2 separate regions of the Homo sapiens genome follow, and region 2 is linked to region 1. Evidence: promoter capture Hi-C in 16 types of primary human blood cells and fetal thymus (Javierre and others, 2016). All regions are on one chromosome and are shown on one strand. The core of a region is centred on a gene start or on the middle of the fragment in contact, and the rest is flanking DNA. Distances in the headings are between cores, read along the strand shown.

Region 1 (5,706 bases), core at 3,207-5,706:
TCTTGCAGGCACTGGAGCTGGTTCCATGGGTTGCCAGAGGAAGCCTGAGAGAGGGAGGCTGGGAGAGGGGGCGGGGAACCTGATCCTGTGTATATGTCAATACCCAACAAAAACTTGTGTAGGGGGGTGGGGTGCATTTGGGTTACTGGAGTTACACAGACATGTGTGTACATGGATTGTGTGAAGGGGCTGCTCAAGTGCCGTGTGTGCACCATGTATGTGGGTGCACATACGCCTGTGTATATAGCGAGTCAGTGGGCTTGTGTCTCCTGGGTATTGTGCCAGGCATGTGGGTGAAGGCGCTGGAGTTCCTATGTGGCTTCGCTCAGCACCAGGATTGCAGACGGGTAGGGGCGGGCCTGCTCTGGGAGGAGGAGGGGAGGAATCATGTGCCCACCCACCCCCACATGGACCGGCTGCCCACCCTCCAACGTGGCAGCACGCAGGACAGCCCTTTTTGGATGGAAGGCCCCACGCTCCAAGAGAGAGAATCCAAGATTACAGAAATCGTGTTTTCCTGACTCATGCCTTGGGCTGAGAGCACATTCTTGGCTCCTGGACAGCATCTCAAAGAAGAGCTGCCTATAGCAGCCCTGGCTCCCTGAGGGAGGGGGCCGACCCTGGACTGGCTGTCGGAGCTTTCTGGGCTCCAATTTTATACCAATGTAAAAAGAAGGGGATTAAACTTCCTTCCGATTAACGTTCTATAATTAAAAGTGAGACACTAATGACGGTGCCCAGCACAGGCCTGGCAGCGGCAAAATGGCCCATAAATGTCACTTCCTTCTCGTCCACTCCCTGCCTTCCCGTGGATATGGCATAAACAGACCTGATTCAAAACCCAGCTCTGACTCTGGCTTGTTGTGTGCCCTTAACCCTGTTGCTTAGTCTCCCTGATCCTCAGTTTCTTCATGCTGAAAATTGGAACATTCTTCCTTACCTGAAAGGAATAAATATGATAATAAATGTGAATGTGTTGCACACTTAAATGACATGCAAGTTTTTGTCCTAGGATTCTATGGGGTGAAGACTGAGTGAATCTAGCCACTGGGGCCAAAGAAAGCTGTTTCCACAGCACCTGGCAGAACTGGGCCTACATACCCCCCTGGGTCATTAGAGGGTACTGTGGGAGAAAGAGGGCTGGGAGTCCAGGGCTTAGGCTCCAGCCCAGCCCCACCTCTGATATGCTGTGTGACCTTGGGTAAATTCCTGCCCTCTCTGGGCTTCCGTTGTCCTCTCTGTATAGTGTGGATGCAGTTGGACTTGATGGTTTTCTACTTTCTGCTGTCCACACCTCTCGGGACCTAGGGATCTAGAGGATTTCCAGCCAGCCTCCACGTGCCAGGCACCAGGACCACTTCCTTCAGTGAAGCGAGGCACTGGAGGAGTCCAGAGACAAAATGCTTGAGAGTTTCTCTGCTTATCAGACTCTTCTCCCCCACCCCCTAAAAGAGTGCTTTTTCCGGAAAGCTCTGCCTGGAATGTGGGGGAAGGGCCACAGTCAGTCTGGGCTGGGCTCAGAGCTAAGAATATTGTGGCAAAGGCTCTTGACTTTTTTTTTTTTTGCTGATCTTGGAAATTTAAAGGAGCCGTTGCTTTCCCTTCTTCAGGGAGGCTGTGCTAGGGGCACAGCAGCCTCAGGCAGCCACTTCTCATCCCCTGGCCAGCCATGCTTACCCAGTGCCTCTTCCATACTGTCCCCTTGCTGGAGCTGGGGACTCACAGTGACAAGGAAAAGGCCCTGCCCTTCCAAAGTCTCCAGTGATGGTTCACTGACAATACAGGGTGATAACAGAGATAATGCAGCAGTGGGATAGGTCACAGAGGAGGCTTCTGACCCGGTGTGAGATTAGTGGGGGTCGGATGGGGGTTGGGCCTTCAGACCCAGCCCTCCTTAGGCCTCAGCTTTGCTGTCTGTAAGGGCAGGTCCTCTCTTCAGTGACCACTCATGATACTGGGTCTATTTAACAGCATGAGCTTTGGTTTATCCCTCAAAATGGGACAGTCACAGCACTCTCAGTCTCCCCCTCAGGTGTTGGTGAAGCCTAAAAGAGCTAAGAGATGTAAGAGAGTAGAGGAAGGGAGTCTCACTGGGATTGTGACATCTGAACCTGCTGAAAACCCAGGCGACCCTCTCTGTTTTGCCAGCATTGATGGGCACTCTTTGTTTCTGCTCTGCCCTGCCCTCAGCTCACTGACCAAGTCACAAGGAAGCCTGAGGGCCAATGTGGGGGTGGGAGTAGAGAGTGGGGTCTGGCCTGGGACCCGGGAGGTCTCCTTGGATAAACAAGAATTTATCTTTTTTTTTTGAGATGGAGTCTCGCTCTGTCACCCATGCTGGAGTGCAGTGGCATGATCTCGGCTCACTGCAAACTCCACCTCCCAGGTTCAAGAGATTCTCCCGCCTCAGCCTCCTGAGTAGCTGGGATTACAGGCACATGACACCACAGCTGGCTAATTTTCATATTTTTATTAGAGATGGGGTTTCACCATTTTGGCCACGCTGATCTTGAACTGCTGACCTCAGGTGATCCACCCACCTCGGCCTTCCAAAGTGCTGGGATTACAGGCATGAGCCACCGCGCCCAGCCTAGAATTTATCTTTAAAAGCAATATACAGTTGAGGCAGGAGGAAGCACATGAGAACCACGACAGCCACCCCAAAGAGATGGACACCATGCCAAGGCTGGAAGCTTTTGTTAATAATCAGACCTGTCCTAAAAAAGAATGCGGGGCTGCCTCTGAAGGAGGTAAGCTCTCTCTTCTTAGAGGTGCCTCGGTGCTTGCCTTTTTGGGATACTGAGAAGAGGGCTTCTGCCTGGGGCTGCAGACAGGAACCCCTGACCTCTGAGATGCCTTGCAGCTCAGAGTCTTTAATACATTTATTCCAGAATCCTTCGACTCTGAGATTTTAACATGTTAAGATTCCTTAGCTGGATTCAAAGACTCCTTGGGGGCTTTGAGTGGAAGTAATCTCTGATTCCTTGACCCTGAATCACAGAGTCTGAAGCTTTTGGGATCTGAGATTTCCCACAGTCCTTGTACTCAAAAGACTCTGAGCTGCAGAAGCCTACCCAGACAGAGAGGTTTGTCACCACCACCAGGCTTCCCCACAACCACTAACAGAGGGCAGGGACCCAGGTGATTGACTCATTTGCTGGGTACTGGGATTTTTTTGCTCCCCAGGATCCAGGCAAGCACCTAGAAGAAAGAAGATACTCAATGCATTCATTCATGACTGAATGAATGAAGAGTCCCTACCCTGTCCCTTCCTCTCCATACTGCGTCCATCCAATAGCTATCATTAAACTACTAAAGAGGACTTTTCGGAGGGTAGGGAGCCTCGGCTGATCAGAAATTGAGCCACTGTCGCCCAGATTATTTAGGGTTTCCTAAATAATCTGCCTCACTGAATCACTGAATTCCCTACTAACAGGTACATACCCCACAGATGGACATCGCACAGGGCAAGGACTTTGTTCAGCTCTCAGCTGTGTCCTCAGCACCTAGAACAGTAATGAATACCCTAGCTTAACTTGGAGGTCAAGGAGCTATCAGTTTGCGAGGGTGGGGTAGGAATTGACAGTGAGACCTGAGGCCTGTGGGAGGGGACCCAAAGAGGGAGGGGATGCAATAGGGAGGGGGCCAGGGGTGACAAGGATTGAGGAAGGGAGAGAGGGGGGAAAAAAAGCAAGGGATGCCTTAGAACCACATTTCACAGCCAAGGGAACAGAGGCCCAGAAAGGGAAAGTAACCTGCTTAGGGTCACACAGCACCTTGCTCAGTGGAGAGCCAGGTTTTCCTTCCTGTGCACTCCTCCAAGCCCAGCCAGACCACCTGAAGTTCCCCAGGCATCTCTGCCTCTATTACTCCACGACTTGAACTTTCCGGGTGCCGGGCAGGTACCGGGTCTGGTCTGCTCCCTCTCCCTCTGGCCATCGCTGAGGTTGAGGTTTTTTGAATGTACAAGTATGGAGAAGGGCACTGCCTTCAGAAGCCTGAACGTCTCCCCTGAGAGGGAGGGGGTGCACAGGACTCAATTGTTTCAGCTTGAAAATGGGGGAGAGCGGGGAGAAGGGGAGATGGCTCTGCTTGGGGCAGAGCCCCTGCGGGGAAAGGGGCGCCTGAAAGGACGTGCGATTCGGAGTGGGCTAGCTTATGCAGAGAGCCTGGGGGTGGGAGGAAGCTCGCACTCTGAAGGACACGCTGATCCCCGTGGGGACTCCCGGCGCCCCGCAGCCCGGGCCGCCGAGGGAGGCAGTAGGACCCAGGGGCCGGGAGGCGCCGGCAGAGGGAGGGGCCGGGGGCCGGGGAGGTTTTGAGGGAGGTCTTTGGCTTTTTTTGGCGGAGCTGGGGCGCCCTCCGGAAGCGTTTCCAACTTTCCAGAAGTTTCTCGGGACGGGCAGGAGGGGGTGGGGACTGCCATATATAGATCCCGGGAGCAGGGGAGCGGGCTAAGAGTAGAATCGTGTCGCGGCTCGAGAGCGAGAGTCACGTCCCGGCGCTAGCCCAGCCCGACCCAGGTGAGGGGCGGGAGACGCCTGCGTGCGTGCGGCCCGGGGGAGCGCCGAGCAATCTGGGGGTGCGCGAGGGAGTAAGAGGGGCGAGGGGACCCTGCGAAGCGTTGGGTGCCGAGCCAGAGCCTACAAATTGGAGTCCTCGGCACTTTGGGGGCCGCTGGAGGGTTTGGAATCGAGAGCCCAGGGCTAGCCAGTGATGGTGCCAGCTGAGGGCTAGGGCGGAGATCGGAGCCGGGTTGGGAGTCCGTGCACTCGGAGGACTGGGAAAAAGTGCAGGGACCCCTAAAAGGTGGTGGTGGCAGATACGAGACTAGGTGCTGTGTAAAGGGGGCTGGGGGCAGAGAGCAGAGCCTCTGCGGAAAGAAACAGAGGAGGAAGGAGATGGGTCTGGTGCCTCTTCCCGCAAGGGTAGGGAGGATAGGCCGGCCTCGCAGTTCCAGGTCACTTCCGTTCTGGGGTTGAGGCTCAGGGGCAGCGGTGATTGGTGGCCCAGCCTCCTCACAGGCTTGCTGAGGGAATTTGAGCTTCCGGTGGTGGGAAAGGAGGTGAAATCGTCTCGACTCCTGGGGTCCGTGTGCTCTGGTAGAAGTGGGCGACAGTGGCTCAATTTCTGATCAGCAGCTTGCAGCCTAGATGATGGCAGCCAAAGGAAAGACTTGGCCAGCGAGGCTCCCTACCACTCCGAAAAAAGAGAGTGGGGGTCAGCAGGGTCTGCTCTGCTCTGGGGATTAAGGGGCTGACTAGAAGGATTTGAGTCTTTCCTTCTGTCCACTGCCACAGGGTTCTTGGAGTAACTGCAGGGTTTAAACTGCAGGGTCTAACTTCCAGAGGCTGGGGTTCCCTGCCCCCCAGCTTAGAGACATTCCTGAGGTGGCTGAAGAGCAGGAAGGAGAATGAATGCACTTCCAGACTGGCCCAGAGTCTCAGCCCCTCCTCTTCCTTGTTTCCCGCTGGTCCCTCTGGGCTGTACGGCCCGGATGGAGGCCTGAGGAAAATGAGGGGGCTTTGGTTCTCCGGAATTCCGGCCGGGGCCACACCCTCCTGTCTTCAGATGGTTCATGTACCCATCCCCCCTTCCCGTCCTCTCCTTTGTCTCCTCTGTCACCGGGACTCCCAGCAGAGATTTTTTTTTTGTACTGGCTGTGTAACAGGACACCGCATGCAGCCCTCAGGAGGGGCTCTGTGC
Region 2 (5,706 bases), core at 2,178-4,677, 760 kb after region 1:
GCCACATAACCATGGGTGGCTCACTGGACTTTCATCTGGGCAAAGAGAAGGGTGTGCTGACACTACTCATGGCTCCTTCATCTGGGACCTACCCAAATCCCGTGGCTTTGCTCACAATCATCTGATCCTGTTGTGCCCAAGATGCCTGCTCCCATGCCTGGATACCTGCTGCAGCTGCTCCAAGCCAGGACCCTGCCAATCTGTCATTTTAGATCTTCAGCTCTGGGTTGGTCTTCCAGGTGCCTCTGCCTCCCAAGGAAACCCAAGGAACTCCGCCAGAAAGGGAATGCCTAAAAGAGCAGCAGTGGGGACTGTAGGGGTCCTCCTGCCTGCCCCTTTGTTATCCAGAGTGGGGCCCTGACTTGCCTGAAGTCACACAGGGACTCCGGTATTCCAATCCTCGGCCTTAAGATCGCTGCTATCCGGTTACTTCTATCTAAAAGCCCTAGAGAAGTTTCGGGAGACACTCAAAGGGCCCTTGTCTGGTTTCCAGGCTGACCAACTCTAATGGAGAAAAAGCTCACTCACTAAGCATACATCAAATGCCAGGCGTATAGAATCCTTCAGTGGAGGGATCATTCTCCCCATTTTACAGAGGAATAAAGTGAGGCTCAGAGTGAATGAAAGACTTTCCCAGGTCACATGTCTGCAGTAGAACTGGGGTTCTCGGGTGGCCTTGATCACCATGCTCGGCTCCCTTGAAGGCTGACGCACACAAATTAATTCCAAAGACAAGGCAGCAAATAACCAGATACAGGCTTTGGCGTTCTGAGACCCTGAGGGAGCAGGGAAGACTTCCTGGAGGTGGTGAGTGGGGCACTGAGAGAGGCCTTGGAAGAGGGTCCAAGCTGGACTAACGAGGAAGGAGGAGGGTTGGCAGGAGGGAGACATTCCCACTCCCGTCACCTGGGTGCAGGCACTGTGACTTCTGCCTACAGCCTCCTCACCCATCCCCTGCCACTCCCCCAGTCCCCCCCCGCCCCCCCCCGACACCAGCCAGAGTGGCCTTCCCGGAAAGCAAATGACTGGCCAGTCAGGGTCCTGCTTACAATCCCTCAGAGTCGCCCATCCTCCAGCATGGTTTGCCAAGGACCTGCTCGGGACTGGCTCTCCCCACTCTCTCCAGCCCCATCTTGAGCCACTACACCTTGAATTCAGCGTTTCAACAACACACAGTATTTGGAATTTCTCCAACTGCCCCCCTGTTGGTCTTTGCATATTCTGTTCCCTCTGTCCATCATATCCGTTCATCTTTCAGAGCTTAGCTGAAATCCCTCCAGGACGCCTTCCCTGAGCCCCGGATTGAGTGGGGTGCCCTCCCCCAGCTCCCACCCTGGGTCTGTGTCTGCCTGCCCTGCCCATGCCCGCCCCACAAGGCCCACGCTTGCGCCCTCGGGCTGCGCAGGGCGAGGGTTTGGGGGCGCGGTACTGACGGGTGTCCAGGCCTCTCCTCGAAGGGTTCCGCGCGCAGAAAGGTGGGCCGGGGCCAGAAGACGCGCTGGAAAGGCGTTTTCTGCCCCCTCCGGGCCTCGGGAATATTTGTGGGCTGCCGGCGGGGCAGGCGGGGTGGGGGAGGCTGCCCGGCGGGCGGGAAGCCCCGCGCACTCGGGTCCCCTGCGGTCCCCGGCGGGGGTCGGCGCGTGCGGAAAGCGGCCCGAGCCCCCAACCTCGGCCCGTCCGCAACCGAAGAGGAGGCGACCGCAGCCTGGAAAAGAAGAGCCCCCAGCTGTTTCCTTCCACCCGGGCGGGCGGGACGGAGAAGGGAGGGAGCCTGGGAGAGACGCAGGTGTGGCGCTCGCCTGTGCTGGCGGGGTGGCAGCCGGGGCGTGGCACCCTCGGAGTCTCGACTCTGCCCACTTCTCAGGCAGAAAACTGAGGTGGTCCCATGGCCAGAGCTAAGAAAGGCAGTGCTGATTCCTGGGCCCCCGCTGCTCACAGCGTCCTTCAGCATCCCAGTAGGCCGAGGGCATCTCACTCTTAGGTGACCACAAGAATCACGGGGACAGTTGTTAAAATGCAGATTTCAAGGCCCCATCTCCCAGAGACGCAGTAGGTCTGAGATGGGACCCAGAAATCAGCTCTTTAAAACAAGGAAATAGTCCACATGTTGTGAAGCACTGGTGAAGAGATGCTTTGGAATAGGAAGCTTCCCCCTCGGCCTAGTTACAGCAGAGAGCAGAGAGCGAGGACTCGGAAGGGAGGGACTTGGACCCTGAAGCCCAGGCTTTCCTGCTGGGTGACTAACTTCTCTGTGTCTTGATTTTATCTTGCCTAAAGTGGAGATAACATTCAGCCCACAAGGTTCTGTAAAATCAAAGAGATGTGAGTAAAAGTGCTTTACTAACTTCACCACCACCATCATTATTATTCACTGTCACCGCCCATCCCCTAGGCAAGGAAAGAAGCCATCCTGAACCTGTGGGGTGATGAGCTCAGATGCTACCACCTCTGCAAAGGCAGCCCTGGTCATTTGGGAGGAAGCCCTCTTTCCTCTGAACTGAACACCACTCCTTCACCCCCATTTGGTGCTCCTTGTACGTGCCCAGGGCTGACTGCAGTACCATGTGCCATTTTTTCACCAAAATATGAGCTCTACCTTTGGGGCTCCTCAAAGTCAGCAATTATGTCAGAAGGGCTGCATGGTAGAGACCTGAGTTTAAGTCTCAGGTCTGTCATTTACTGAGAGATCTTGAAACCGCCTTTGTAAAATTATGACTGAGACAGTGAAAGAGATCTAACTTAACTGACTCCATTTTGCTTCTAACCTCCAAGCTGTCCTTGTTCATTCCTAAGCATAGATTGAACTATCTTTGGGAGAAATTTAGTTTATAGTTTATTGTTTAAACAAAGATGGTAACAGACCTTTCCCAAAGCAGACCTCCTTCTTGCCTGGGGACTAGATTGCTTTGGCAGGTCTAACATTAGCCACAAGATAAGGAATTATATGCAGCTGGAGGATACAAGATTCTGACCCTCTCTAACCTGCTCTAAGATCAGTGCTTGAGATGTTTCACAGGCCCTGCACTTGATGGATCAGCTGGCACCACCCAGATCAATAAACTGGCTCATCTGATCTTGTGGCCCCCACCCAGGAACTGACTCAGCGCAAGAAGACAGCTTCCACTCCCTGTGATTTCATCTCTGACCAATCAGCACTCCTGGCACACTGTCTTCCCCCCACCCACCAAGTTATCCTTCAAAACTCTGCTCCCCAATGCCTGGGGAGACTGATTTGAGTAATAATAAAACTCTGGTCTCCCGCACAGCCAGCTCTGCATGAATTACTCTTTCTCTATTGCAATTCCCCTGTCTTGAAGAATCGGCTCTGTCCAGGCAGTGGGCAAGGTGAACCCCTTGGACTGTTACAATCTCAGTAAATGTAAACTGTCAGTTTACTGAGATCTCTCAGTAAACTGCCCCCGTTATTCTTGGGGCCACCAAAGAGTGAGCTGCCCTTGGCCTACTGTGATGCCAAAGGGCGCCGTGAGCAGCGGGGGCCCAGGAATCAGCACCGCCTTTCTTAGCTCTGGCCATGGGACCACCTCAGTTTTCCACCTGTGAAGTGGTCAGGAAGGCTGTGGGATCTTGATCAGTGCATCCACCTCTCCAAAAGTCTATCACTTTAGAGTGTAAAGGTTTAAATGGAATAATGTCTATAAAGTACTGTAATGTCTATCACTCAGTTGGCCTAACTTGAATAAAACAAATACAAGCTGGGCAGTCTGAGGAAGGCATCGCAAGGAGTGGCTTTTGACCTGGGCTTTTAGAGCCAGGAGTCTTAATAGGTAAAGAACTGGTGGGGAAGGGCCCCTCTAGGCCCTTTTCCATATTCTGGTTACAGTCTCTGTTAATGTTTATAACTTTAAACAGAGACTTCCTGCTCTGAAATGTGTTGTTACTGCCCATTTAAAAATTGAACTAGAATAAAGATAGCAAGCGGAACTCGCACTATGGTCTTCCCTGAAACCAACTAAAACAACACTAAAGGGATTTATCATAATATTGGAAACCAGACACAGCCAACAAAGAATGGTAATTGATTAAATCCTAAAAGGCAATAAAGAAAGTTGAAAATCAGCCCAATTTACACTGTTAAACCCCCAAATGGTTCAGGAGTTGGTTGTACCAGGTACCTCTGGAAAGTGGGTGGGTCGGAGGTGGGCGGGGTGGAGGCTAAAAACAGAAAGATTGCTTGGAAAACAATCAGACTTCCAGATACTCTCTCTCCTGGCAAAATACTAATACTCCAGACAGGATACACAGAATGCTTCAGGCAGGAGATTGGAGGAGCTTTTCTTTTGACTAGCACAAAATAAAAGACATGGAATGGCCCAATCATGTGCACAGCCCCAATCATGTTCAGAGGGTATCAAATCTGTTTTAGTGTCTCATTCTTAAATATGAGCAGACAGCAAAGGATGAGTAAGCATTTGAGAAAAGCCTCTAATTAAAAAAGAAGTCAAAAGAATAGGGGGAAACAACAAAGGAACTTAGAAGCTGGCAACTTTGCAAAAAGCTGAAAACTTAAAACTATAATTAACATCCTAAGAAATAAGATATTGCTGCAAAATGGGGAAATGTCTCCAAAATTCTGAAGAAAGTTATATTTCCATCCCAGAAAGTTATATTTCCACCCAGCCAACTGATGATCAAGGGTGAAGAGAGAATACATTTCTAGTCATGTGAATTATCTTTGCATGTTTCCTGAGGAAGCTTCTGGAGGATGTGCTTCAACAGAAGTGAGGGAGTTAACCAAGAAAGAGGAAAACATGGCATCCAAGGAAAAGAAAATGTAACAAAGGATAGGGGCAAAGGAATCCCCAGGCCATTCTATTCTATTGTGCAATAGAAGACAATTCATCCTAATGGGACATGGTGGAAGACTCTGGGAGGGACTTCTTCAGGAAGATGAAATCAGTAGACTAGCCAATGCATTTAAACATATTGAAAGGAGATATGCATAACCACAATTGTTATGCAGGGAAGGAAAAATAATTATAGAATACTACACGGCCCAGTTGTCAATAGCATTTACGTAGCCTAATAATGAAAACATGAATACTGTTCCAATCAAACTTGTGATACTAGGTGGAAGTAGGGAGACACAAAATGTACATGTGAGTGTGGAGAAAGTAAGGGGAAAGAGAGAGAGAAAGAGAAAGAAACTGAAAAATCAAGAAGTAGTAGTATAAGCAAATAATTTAGAGTCAAAAGCAGTGACACAGAGAGACTGCTCAATAAAATATTTGCTGAATGCATGAATGGTCAACACCTAGTGAGGGCCAGGCACATATTTATTGAGCATAATAGTACTTAAGACTTACTGAACAGAAAGGGTCTTCTTCCTTAGAATCACCTTGGTCTGTGTTTGGGTACAAAGCAAGTCCTTGACAAATGTGCATTGCCTTGGTTGAGCGGATGTGGCCTCCTGGATTCCCAGCCTGTTGTGTGATTTTGAACAACTTTCATAGCCTTTCACAAAGGTGCCAGGGTTTCTCCATTATCAATAGGGAAAAAAACGGTCAGAGGATGCTTCCTGGGTCTCAGAGCTGTGACTTGAGAATTGAGTGGGGGAGAGGGGATGGCAATGGTGATGCACAACATGCACCTGAGGATTCCTAGGTGTCCGGAAGACCTGCCCCTGGGGTGGGTGGGTGGAAGGGAAAAGTAATGGCTGATGAAAAGAGGCTGCGAGAGAGGCCTGAA

What was found. The method cuts DNA at HindIII sites, captures the fragments that hold promoters and counts their contacts. A CHiCAGO score of 5 or more calls a contact.
Region 2: a contact is called between a fragment that was not itself captured here and the fragment with the promoter of SERPINH1 in region 1, in 1 of 17 cell types (naive B cells). The highest score is 5.2, in naive B cells.

The regions. Positions count from the first base shown.
Region 1 is chr11:75,557,797-75,563,502 of GRCh38, forward strand. SERPINH1 (serpin family H member 1) reads left to right here and starts at 4,457. Exons shown (of 5, transcript NM_001235.5): 1 at 4,457-4,523. RefSeq lists cis regulatory regions at 448-678, 1,151-2,001, enhancers at 1,014-1,555, 4,137-4,676, 4,677-5,217, 5,218-5,706 and silencers at 4,193-4,452, 4,463-4,512. The HindIII fragment of the contact is 13,607 bases long and covers 3,009-5,706 here.
Region 2 is chr11:76,320,503-76,326,208 of GRCh38, forward strand. LOC105369395 (a long non-coding RNA gene) reads left to right here. Exons shown (of 5, transcript XR_950333.3): 5 at 1-157. Among named protein-coding and RNA genes, the nearest start is that of THAP12, 58 kb to the right of the region's middle. The HindIII fragment of the contact is 2,567 bases long and covers 2,145-4,711 here.